Linked DNA regions of Homo sapiens: region 1 is linked to region 2. The links are contacts of gene promoters, found by promoter capture Hi-C in blood cells and fetal thymus (Javierre and others, 2016). All regions are on one chromosome and are shown on one strand. Each heading gives the region's core, a stretch centred on a gene start or on the middle of the fragment in contact. The rest is flanking DNA. Distances are from core to core; before and after follow the strand shown. Region 1 holds the start of TRIM63 (tripartite motif containing 63). Region 2 holds the start of CNKSR1 (connector enhancer of kinase suppressor of Ras 1).

Region 1 (5,843 bases), core at 968-3,467, 110 kb before region 2:
CCCTGGCTCAACAATTCTCCTGAAGAGCTGGGACTACAGGCATGCCCCACCACGCCCAGCTAGTTTTTAAACTTTGTAGAAACAGGGTCTCACTATGTTGCCCTGACTTGTCTTGAACTCCTGGCCTCAAACAATCATCCCACCTTGGCCTCCCAGAGTGTTGGGATTATGGGCATGAGCCACCATGCCTGGCCCTCTCTCCCCAGTTTGAGGCCAACCCTTCACAACCTCCACCACTCACACATTCTGCCTATGAATGAGCTGCTATTTTATTAGCAGGAAGACTCAGAGCTAGATTGACTGGGTCAACTCCCAGCTCTTTCACTTCCCAGCTGGGAAACCTTAGCTAATTGATTTCACTTCTTGAGCCTCAGTTTCCTCATCTGTGAAATGAGGATAATAAAGTCATGCCTGATTCACAGAGTTATTGGGAGGTACTTAGATGAAGCATTCCCAGTGCCTGACGCTGTTCCTCATGGCACACGGGAGAGTAGCTGTTGCTATCCTTATAGACAACCTGGCTGTTTCTCACCGGGCATTTTCTCTGCTGACCAGAGCCACTTAGCTGGCCCCAGGGCCTTTCTCTCCCTCTCACATCTCATCTTTCCCCCAGTCTCTGTCTTGGTATTGCCTGGAAGGGCAGCCTAATGTCTGGGCCCCTTCCCATCCGCTGAGCAATCCTGAGAGCTGGGTTGGGGTGTATGGGTCTCCAGTCCTGTCTCTGAATGGCTTGTGTAGCTAGTCCAGCTAGAGGCCTGGATCCTGAGCAGATGAAGGAGGGGGAAGGAGCGTGGGGGATCTAGGCACAGCATGGCTGGGAAGGAGGGCGGGCCCCCAGCAGGCACGAGAACCGACCTGGAGCACTCCTGTTTGTAGATGTCGATGATGTTCTCCACCAGCAGGTTCCTCTGCAGGCCGTACACTCCGTGACGATCCATGATCACCTCGTGGCGGCAGGTGGGGCAGCGGAAACGGCCTCCAGACATGGACACTGAGCTGCCCCGGCTGGTCCAGTAGGGATTTGCAGCCTGCAGGTGGCAAAGGTCAAGGTGAGGCCTGGGCTCCCTACTTAGCCCTTCTCTTTTCTAATCTCCTCTTATCCTTTCCTCTGCCTATCCGAACCACCCCCGTCAAACCTAACAACCTGGAGCTCTGCAGACTGTGATGAGAACCAGTCCTCACACACAGAGCACCTGAGAAGCAGCTAAGCAATCGTCAGGATGGGGAGGCAGGAGACCTGGGTTCAAGTCATGTTTATTCTCTGAGTGATTTTGGGCAAGCAACCTTATCTGTGTAGGCCTCAGTTTGCCCACTTATGAAATAGGTATTACAATGAGAGCAAGCTCCTAAGGCTGCTACTTTAAAGATAATATCGTGAAAGAACATTTTGTAAAGTGTCCATGGGGAACCTCGCATCCTGCCTCCCAGCCAGGACATCTACCCCCTTCCTTTCTCGGGGAGTTGGAGCCCCTTCTGCCCCCATATCATAGGGAACAGCCTCAAAAGGGAAGATGCCTCTACTGCCCACTGCCTCCCTGACACCCTCCTCCCAAAGCTCTGGGCCTCTTGCCACCAGGACCTGGCTCCAGCCCCAGGGGTCTGGTTTCTCTCTCCTGTCCCTGCCTACCCCGCTTATCACTTGAGGCATTTGACTCTTGATTGGAGAGTCAACAGCAGTGCTCAGGGCAGGGGTGGGGGAGCTGTGGGCAGGGCAGGGAGGGGAAACTTGTGTTATGGAGAAGAACCGCAGCAGCCAGAGCCGCCTCCCAGCCCCCTCTCAGCCCTGTCCAGAGGCCTCTGCAGGGGTTCACTTCCAAGGGGAAAGAGGCTGTCCAGGTTGGAAGTCTAAGGGAGAAGGGTTTCATCACAGGGAAGCCAAGTAGCCACCTGGGGACCCCAAATGAAGCTGCACCCGGCACTTACCTGGAAGATGTCATTGGCACACTTCCGGCACAGGTTGTGCTGGCACGGCAAGATGACCACTGGCTTGGTAAACATCTCCAGGCAGATAGGGCAGATCAGCTGCTTCTCCAAGTTCTCCATGGGATTCCCATCCTGGATCAGGCTCGACTTATAATCCATTCTGTGGGAAGGAATGAGAGCCACGCCTAGCTGCCTCCTCTACTAACTTTGCTCTAAGTAGACCTGGGGGTCTTGCCTTTGTCACAAAACACCGGGTCGGATCCTGTTGGCTTCCTTCTCCTGGTGCCCGAATTCTGTCTTGGTCTGAGGCCCCTCTGATATTTATAGCTAGATCTTGGTCACATGAGCCCCAGGAGGGGACCAGCTGAGCATTCCGATGCCAAGCGGCTGGTGGGGCTTGAGTTTCCTCCAGGCCTGAAAGACTGGCCCTCTCAAATCACATGCAGGGATGAGCAATCACTATTCTGCTGGGACGGGGGTCATAAACAAGAACAGCCTGTTCAGAGGCAGGCTTAGGGCAAGACTGGGTACCCAGAGCTTCCTCCAGAAATTGGTCTCCCCCCGGCACCAGGCTAGTGGGTCAGGGATGGGACCCAGCAAGTGAGCCACGGGGATTCAAGGGGTTAATAGCCAATGCTATGATGAAAATGTTCGATGAATGAATTTTATTCATTCATCAGACATTTTTCTGAGTACTAGTATATACATCAGGCAACTAGTATACATCACAACGTGACAGATGGATGAGTGATCTGTTTCCCTGCCCCGAGAAACTCACAGCCCAGGAAGGGAGATAGAAAGGATTGTGCAGTGGCACGATCTCTGCTCACTGCAACCTCCACCTCCCAGGTTGAAGGGAGTCTCCTCCTTCAGCCTCCCAACCTCAACCCCCTCCCAGCCCCACGCAACCCCTCACTGACCTAAATCAATTCCATCCCCTCCTCTGGAGTCCTGGGCAGCTCCTAGATGGAAGGGTCGGGCAGCCCCTCTCTCTGAGCCCATCCCTCTGCCTCAGACTTCAGCACAGCATTTTGCTGGAGATGATGGAGACCCCCACTCCAACCAGCCCATCCTCCATCCCTCGGCCACTTATTTCACTTAGTGCTGAAAAGCCTCCTTTGAAACACAGTCCAGTCCCCTCATCTTACAGATTTTGAAATGGGACTAGAGAAGAAAAGGATTATATTCAAAGTCAGTTGGAAAGTAAGTGGCAGCCGGGCGTGGTGTCTCACACCTGTAATCCCAGCACTTTGGAAGGCTGAGGCAGGTGGATCACTTGAGGTCAGGAGTTCGAGACTAGCCTGGCCAACATGGTAAAACCCTGTCTCTACTAAAAACACAAAACTTAGCTGGGTGTGGTGGTACGCGCCTGTAATCCCAGCTACTCAGGAGGCTGAAGCAGGAGAATCACTTGAACCCAGGAGGTGGAGGTTGCAGTGAGCTGAGATCGCGCCACTGCACTCCAGCCTGGGTGACAAGAGTGAAACGCCATCTCCAAACAAAACAAAACAAAACAAAAAAGAAAGAAAATAAGTGGCAAAGACAGAAATTTTATTCATTCATCAGACATTTTTCTGAGTACTAGTATACATCAGGTAACTAGTATACATCACAACGTGACAGATGGATGAGTGATCTGTTTCCCTGCCCCAAGAAACTCACAGCCCAGGAAGGGAGATAGAAAGGAAAAACCCAGAGGGCACAGTGACTCACGCCTGTAAACCCAGCACTTTAGGAGGTCGAGGTGGGCAGACCACGAGGTCAGGAGATGGAGACCATCCTGGCCAACATGGTGAAACCCTGTCTCTACTAAAAATACAAAAATTAGCTGGGTATGATGGCAGGTGCCTATAATCCCAGCTACTCAGTAGGCTGAGGCAGGAGAATCGTTTGAACCCAGGAAGAGGAGGTTGCGGTGAGTCGAGATTGCACCACCGCACTCCAGCCCGGTGATAGAGTGAGACTCTGTCTCCAAAAAAAAAAAAAAAAGAAAAAGAAAAAAGAAAGAAAGAAAGGGAAACCCCTCATGCGGTGCCACAAAGCCCTGCCTGGACACTTAGAAGGCGTCCCTCAGCTCGCTGCACACATTTTAACTTTTCTCCATGTATTTTAGGACATCTTCCACGTTGGCAAGTAGAAGTCATTAGAGCAGTTCCAGTGGCTGGTTTTTTTTTTTTTTTTTCCCGAGATGTAGTTTCACTGTGTTGCCCAGAGGCTGGAGTGCAGTGGCGCCATCTCAGCTCACTGCAACCTCCGCCTCCCAGGTTGAAGTGAATCTCCTGCCTCAGCCTCCTGAGTAGCTGGGACTACAGGCATGTGTCATGACACCCGACTAATTTTTGTATTTTTAATAGAGACAGGTTTTCACCATGTTAGCCAGGCTGGTCTCGAACTCCTGACCTCAGGCAATCCACCTGCCTCGACCTCCCAAAGTGCTGGGATTACAGGCGTGAGCCACTGTACCTGGCCTCCAGTAGCTGTTTTTAAGGTAGCATCTAATGAAAGGACTGTGGGGTCATCTGGTCCAAGGCGATGGGGCAGAGATATGGAGCAGTGGTATCAGGGCCCAAGATGAGCCTAAGAGGCTGTGGAATACTCAGGAGGAGTATGAAGGATTTCAGGAAAGAGGAATGATGGGAGCAATGAGACAAGACATAGAGCAGAGAAGCAAACCTTGGAAGAGAGGAAATGGGAGAAGAAGAGGGACAAGTTACAGAAAAAAGAAGAGGCCTTAAAAACAAAGGGCTGGAGGATTTCGAGGAGAGAGTTGTCCCCCCAAAATTTTGCTGAGCACTTAGGTTTTGCTGAGCACTTACTATGTGCTATGCATTGTGCTAAATGCTTTGTATGCATTATTTCATTTTACCATCTCAATAGCCAATAACAAAAGACCCATAATATCCCCATTCCACAAGTGAGGAAACTCAGGCACACAGGTAAAATAACTTGTATGAGGTCCCACCGATAGCACGAGGTGGCTCTAGGACATGAACCCAAATATGCTTGACTTAGGAACCCAAGCTCCTCATGTAGACTCTATTGAACTGTGTTTAGGTCAAGTCAACACTGACTGAAAAAAGGCCACTTCTTCTTCCTTGCTCATGGGACCTCAGTTTAGTTCAGGCATTGGCAGCATTGTGCTCCAGGAAGATGGCCCTCTCCACTGCCTCAGGAGATGAGTCACACACAGTTTAAGCCTATCATACAACCCCATTCTCTTTTGCCTAATGATGCAGTTATGGTCAATGAGACCCAAGGATATGTCTGTTGGCTAAAGATAAAGGATTTCCTCCACAATAAAAATGAATGTGCAAGAAGAAAGCTTTGTCCATACCTTTGAATGGGGCTGTGAGAGGGTAGAGCAGCTATCTTGCAACCACAAGGGGACAAGGCTGAGGATGATGTCAACACCCTGAGGATAGCATAGAGGAACCATAGGAGGCACCTGGGTTAGAGATGCCATCATTTTGTTGCCAATTTATCCAACCCTAGAGCTGCCTGTCTCTTGACTACTTAAGACGTGAGATTACAAATGCCATTATAGTGTAATTACTCTGTTACTTGAAGCAGTAAGCACCTCATAAACCTGCATGATTCCGACTCCCATATGCTGATGATTCTCAACTCTCTAATTCCAGTTCCGACTTCTCCTCTCTCCCCTAAGCTAAAGATTTGTTGGAGATTTCTACTGGGATGTTCTAATAGTATCTCAAATTCATCATACTCCAGCCAGAATACACCATCTTCCCCGATACCTAGCTCCTCCCTCCATTTTTCTTGTCTCGCATCTTAGTGAACAGCACTACTGTCCACCCATTTGCACCAACCAGGAAGCTGAGAGTCATCTTAGGGCTCCCTCTTCTTCTCATCACATGCCTACTTAATCTCTGTGTCAGGCATGGCCCATCTTTGCATCTCAC
Region 2 (6,084 bases), core at 809-3,308:
ATTGTAGTTATTGCAAGTATCTCAAAATATTTATGCTCAAGTGATTTCAAAATCACAGTGGTTGTTAAACCACCACTAAATTGTTCGTGAGCAACTTCTGTTTCAGATGCTCCTGTGATGTAGCCGCCATTAATTGGTTACCTCCAGGCTTAGCAGTGGTTCAGTGACCAAAGGGCGAATCTGCCTGTTCTGAGTAGGGCTTCTCCACTCTTCTGCATTCCCTGTCTTTTTTTTTTTTTTTTTGAGACGAAGTCTTGCTCTGTCGCCCAGGCTAGAGTGCAGTGGCGCGAACTCGGCTCACTGCAAGCTCTGCCTCCTGGGTTCACGCCATTCTCCTGCCTCAGCCTCCTGAGTAGCTGGGACTACAGGCGCCCGCCACCATGCCTGGCTAATTTTTTGTATTTTTAGTAGAGACGGGGTTTCACCATGTTAGCCAGGATGGTCTCGATCTCCTGACCTCATAATCCGCCCGTCTCGATTATAGGCGTGAGCCACCATGCCCGGCCCAGCATTCCCTGTTTTTAGTTGTTTGCTGATCAATATGTAAGAGGAGGGGCGTCAAAGACCACCCCACAGTTTAATGTCCTTATTCAAGCTGGTCGACAACACACTGAGGTCATTAAAAAAGAAAAATTTAACTTTCGGCCAGTCTTATTAATGTTAGTAAACACATAATATAAATTTCTGGTTTTATTTTTTTGAGATGGGCTCCTGCTATGTTGCCCAGGGTGGCTTTGACTCCTGGGCTTGAGTGATACTCCCCCGCTCAACCTCTCAACCTCTCGAGTAGCTGGGACTACAGTCGTGTGCCAGCACTCCCCAGCTCCAAATTTTTTTTTTGTTTTTTGTGGGTTTTTTTTTTGAGACGGAGTCTTGCTTTGTTGCCAGGCTGGAGTGCAGAGGCGTGATCTCAGCTCACTGCAACCTCCGCCTCCCAGGTTCAAGCGATTCTCCTGCCTCAGCCTCCTGAGTAGCTGTGACTACAGGCGTGCACCACCACACCCAGCTAATTTTTGTATTTTTAGTAGAGACGGGGTTTCACCATGTTGGGCAGGCTGGTTTCCATCTCTTAACCTCATGATCCACCCGCCTTGGCCTTCCAAAGTGCTGGAATTACAGGCGTGAACCACCATGCCCGGCCAAATTTGTTTTTAAATATAGTTTTGATAATTGTTCTCATTGTAATCCTAAGCATTTTGTTTTGTGCATTTATTTATTTATTTATAATACAGAGTTTTGCTCTGTTGCCCAGGCTGGAGTGCAGTGGCACGATCTTGGCTCACTGGAACCTCCCCCTCCTGGGTTCAAGGGATTCTCCTGCCTCAGCCTCCTGAGTAGCTGGGATTACAAGCACCCACTACGCCCAGCTAATTTTTTGTATTTTTAGTAGAGATGGTGTTTCACCATATTGGCCAGGCTGGTCTTGAACTCCTGATCTCAAGTGATCCGCCCACCTCGGCCTCCCAAAGTGCTGGGATTACAGGCGTGAGCCACCGCGCCCGGCCTGTTTTATGCCTTTATAAGCAGCTATTCTGAGAAAGCATTCACAGGCCTCACCAGATGCCAGAGTCCATACTGCAAAATCCAAGGGAGGCTAAACACCCCAGTTCTAAATGTTTTCAAGCCATTCAGATACTGTGCACAGCTGCCCTTTGAAGTACGGTCTATTATATCTCTTTTACAGACCCAGAAACTGAGGCGCAGAAGTTAGGGTCAGCCCCAGGTCACACAGCTAACAAGAGCTGGCCTAGGCACCCAGGGACCTGGCCCCCTAGCCTCTGTGCTTTGCTACTGATTTCAGCGCTCCTCTTGTGGCTTTTTCTTGAGGAGCCCAAGGGTCAGGGTCCCACCCCGCGATATGAGGCCAGTGGCACTGCCCCCTAGCAGGCGCGAGATGCCAGAGCCCTAGGATGTCTGAAGGGCCGGGCAGGAGGCGGACGGGCGTGGGCCAATGGCTGTCGCAGTGCCTCATCTTGCCGTCTGTGTGAGCCCAGGTATGCAGTAGGCTCCGCCCAGGACCCAGCCCGGCCCCTCCTTAGGCCTGGGCTCTGGGAGCGGAAATTCCGGCGACAGCAGGGCAAAACAGGAGCTGATTCGAGCTGGCAGAGCTGGGCCATGGAACCGGTAGAGACCTGGACCCCCGGAAAGGTGGCAACTTGGCTGAGAGGTGGGTGGGGCTGGGGTAGAGTTGGGCTTGAAGGGGACTAGGTGTGGTGTCCCACCGGGAAGCGGGAGGAGAGGAAAAGGAAAAAAAATCTGCGGACTGGGTGCGCTGGTTCACACCTGTAATCCCAGCACTTTGGGAAGCCAAGGTGGGTGGGTCACCTGAGGTCGGGAGTTCAAGACCAGCATGGTGAAACCCCGTCTCTACTAAAAATACAAAAATTATCTGGGGGTGGTGGCAGGTGCCTGTAATCCCAGCTACTTGGGAGGCTGAGGCAGGAGAATCGCTTGAACCCAGGAGGCAGAGGTTACAGTGAGCCGAGATTGCACCGCTGCACTCCAGTCTGGACGACAGAGCGAGATTCAGCTCAAAAGAAAAAAAAAAATAATAAACTGCGGGCTCTATCAGTCGGTCAGTCAGTCAACAAATATTTACAGAGCACCTAACATGTTCCAGGAACCGTGCTGGGCAGAGAGACAGATGAGATGACCCTGGGGGGCCCAAGGACCCAGAAGGGGGCCCCTCATCATGGCAGTAGCCCAAGAGGCCTCTAGGGTGATAATGGGGAGGCGGTGTCATGAAAACAGGAGGGAGGCCTGACAGGCCCACACCCACTGTATCTCCTTCATCTTCCCTGGCCCCAGGGCCAGTGGGCTGTTGTTAAATCCGTTTCTTAGAGTCAGAAACTGACACACAGAGCCAGGAAATGATTTGCTCAGTCTCTGGTGTCATTTTCCCCGCTCCACACCCTGAGCTCCTAGTGACAGAAGCAGAAGCCCTAGGCCAGACTGAAGAGGTTGACACAGCCCCACCCTGGGGCTCCTATCCAAGGGGCAAGGTGCTGTCCAGGCTCAGCGAGCCCACACAGATGGGAAGCAACACACCCCACAGGCAGACTCAGAGAAGGAAGGGCCTCCTGACACACAGTGCGACCAGGAGCAGGCAGTCAGGACACCCCTCCCAGAGTGGGGAGCTGGAGCGCACTAGAGACAGGCTCAGGAGGACCAGCCCGGGTAAGGGCAGGAATTCAGGGCTGGGTTCAGACTCCCAGGCTGGATTCCAGGCCCACCCCCACCGCTTGCCAGCTCTGTGACCATAGGTCTTAGTTTTTCTGTCCATCAAATGGGAAAGGCAACTCTGACCTTATGAAGTCGACAAAGTGAGACAATCATGACATAGTTCATTTGTAGCTCAATGCCTGGGTCTATTGGGAGGGCACCAGCCCAATACAGTCACCGTGCAGGAAGGAGGTGGCTCAGGGGCCCATAGCCAGGGAGTGATAGGTTCATGAACTCCCAGTCCAGTGCTCTCAATGTGACACAGGGAACACACACACACACCTCCCCCAGTGAAGGAGCCTGGCTTAGAAGGGGAAGAATTCCTTCGAAGAGTGAGCAAGCTACTTAACCTCTGTGTCAGTTTTCCCATCTGTAAGCAGGATAATGATAGTCTTTACCTCCTAGAAATGCAGTGAGAATCAAATGTGTTAATATGTGTAAAGCTCTTATAGATTTGCATAGCACATAGTAAGCCCTCAATAGACACTTTTCTTATTTTTCAGTGCCTACCTTGTCCAGGCACAGGCCGGGGGTTAGAGACAAATGGTTATCTAAGGCCTGATCTTTGAAGAGCCTGTGATAAAATGGGAAAGACCGATGGTCAAGTGCAGGGGTTTGTGGAGGCTCAGGGGCAGTGGGAACAAGAGGAGAGCCCTCCATCCCACTCAGCCTGGGAAGTTATGGAAGGCTTCCTGGAGGAAGTTAGATGAAAAAGGAAGTGAAGGAGATAGAAGAGCAACGCCAGCAGGAGGAATAGCACTTGCAAGGACGCTGAGGTAAAAGGGTGTTCCAGGAGCTGCAAGGAATTAGCTCTGTGCATCTGAAATGTTGAGTTTAGGGGGCTCTTCAGGATATGATGCTGGAAAGGGAGGTAGTAGCCTAATCATACAGGGCCTGTAGGTCATGGTAAAGTCTGGCAATAATAATATGATGGCTATTATTGGCTGTCTCCCACGAACCAGACAGTGGCCAAGGCCTTGACATATGTTGTGTCATTCAATACACACATGATTAGAAGGTAGGTACTTTTATTATTCTCACATTACAGGTGAGAAAACTGGGCACAGAGCAGTGCTATTACTTGCTCAAGTGTTCACAGTGTCTCAGTGACTCCATAGCCTCTTGTTCTTATCCCCTGTATCATTAGTTCTCAAACTTAAGGGAGCATCACAGTCACCTGCATTAAAATACAAACTGCTGGCTGGGCGTCGTGGCTCACACCTGTAATTCTAGCACTTTCAGAGACTGAGGCAGTCAAATTGCTTGAGCCCAGGAGTTCGAGACTAGCCTGGGCAACATGGTGAAATCCCACCTCTGCAAAAAATACAAAAATTAGCTGGGTGTGGTGGTGTGTGCCTGTAGTCCCAGCTACTTGGGAGGCTGAGGTGGGAGGATGGATTGAGCCTAGGAGGTCAAGGCTGCAGTGAGCCGTGACTGTGTCTCAAGCCCCTGTCTCAAAAAGAAAAAACAAAACAAAAACAAAAAAAAGACTGCTGGGCCCCAACCTCAGAGTTTCTGATTCAGCAGGTGTGGGGTGAGGCCTGATAATTTGCATTTCTAACAAGTTCTCCGGTGAGTCTGCTGCTGCTGGTCTGGGGGCCACTTTTAAGAACCCATGTCCTATACTTTCCTGCTTCTCAACTCAGTGGCCTCATCTGTGAAATGGGCAGAACAGCCTGGGTGTCAGAGTTGTCATTAGGGTTAGACTAGAGGGAAAAGAGCTTTGCAGGCATGAAGAACCATCCCAAAAGGTCCTGACACCTCTGCTTCCCCGAGCTGAGCCTTACTCTCCCTCCAGGTCTTGACGACTCCCTGCAGGACTATCCCTTTGAGGACTGGCAGCTGCCTGGCAAGAACCTGCTCCAGCTCTGCCCCCAAAGCCTCGAGGCTCTGGCTGTGCGGTCTCTGGGACACCAGGAGCTCATCCTGGGCGGGGTGGAACAGCTCCAGGCCCTGGTGAGTGAATGCTGGTCACACTGGCTGCAGCTTCCACCAACCTGGGGGGTGTGATGGGGGGCTGGCTGCTGCCAGGGAGGTGACTTGCCCTCTTTCTGGCACAGAGCTCCAGGCTACAGACAGAGAACCTGCAAAGCCTGACAGAGGGACTTCTGGGGGCAACCCATGACTTCCAGAGCATAGTCCAAGGCTGCCTGGGGGACTGTGCCAAGACCCCTATTGATGTCCTCTGTGCAGCTGTGGAGCTGTTGCATGAAGCTGACGCCCTCCTCTTCTGGCTCAGCAGGTACCCGGGTTGGGGTGACGAGTGAGGGACTATTGTCATCCTTGGCCTCCTTCAGGGCGTGGGAGAGAAAAACAGATCTTGGCTCTTGTTCAGATATGGTGAGCCAGGCGTGGTGGCTTAGGTCTGTAATCCCAGCACTTTGGGAGGCCGAAGCGGGCAGATCACTTGAGGTCAGGAGTTGGAGACCAGCCTGGCCAACATGGTGAAACCCCATCTTTACCAAAAATATACAAAATTAGCCAGGTGTGGTGGTGCGCACCTGTAATCCCAGCTACTGGGGAGGCTGAGGCAGGAGAATCACTCAAACCTGGGAGGTGGAAGTTCCAGTGAGCCGAGATCATGCCACTGTACTCCAGCCTGGGCGACAGAGTGAGACTCCCTCTCAAAAAAAAAAAAAAAAAAAAAAAAGATATGGTGGAGCAGGGCAGAGGGATTAATCCACCTGTGCAGGGGCACTGGGATGCCAGAGTTCCCACCCCACCCTCCAGCTTGTAATAATCGATCTCATCAACAACCACTGAATGGAGAGCCTCCCCAACCCTGTGCACTGGCTGCTGCTTGTCCTACAGACCCCACCTCAAATGTCATCTCGGGGAAGCCTTCCCTGTTGTACACTCTCC

What was found. The method cuts DNA at HindIII sites, captures the fragments that hold promoters and counts their contacts. A CHiCAGO score of 5 or more calls a contact.
Region 1: a contact is called between the fragment with the promoter of TRIM63 here and the fragment with the promoter of CNKSR1 in region 2, in 10 of 17 cell types (neutrophils, fetal thymus, naive CD8 T cells and 7 more). The highest score is 9.3, in neutrophils.

What each region holds. Positions count from the first base shown.
Region 1 is chr1:26,065,413-26,071,255 of GRCh38, forward strand. It overlaps TRIM63 (tripartite motif containing 63), which reads right to left and starts at 2,218. Exons shown (of 9, transcript NM_032588.4): 1 at 1,924-2,218; 2 at 856-1,028. The coding sequence starts at 2,082. The HindIII fragment of the contact is 10,936 bases long and covers 1-5,243 here.
Region 2 is chr1:26,175,433-26,181,516 of GRCh38, forward strand. It overlaps CNKSR1 (connector enhancer of kinase suppressor of Ras 1), which reads left to right and starts at 2,059. Exons shown (of 21, transcript NM_006314.3): 1 at 2,059-2,167; 2 at 5,021-5,178; 3 at 5,283-5,464. The coding sequence starts at 2,116. The HindIII fragment of the contact is 21,071 bases long and covers 1-6,084 here.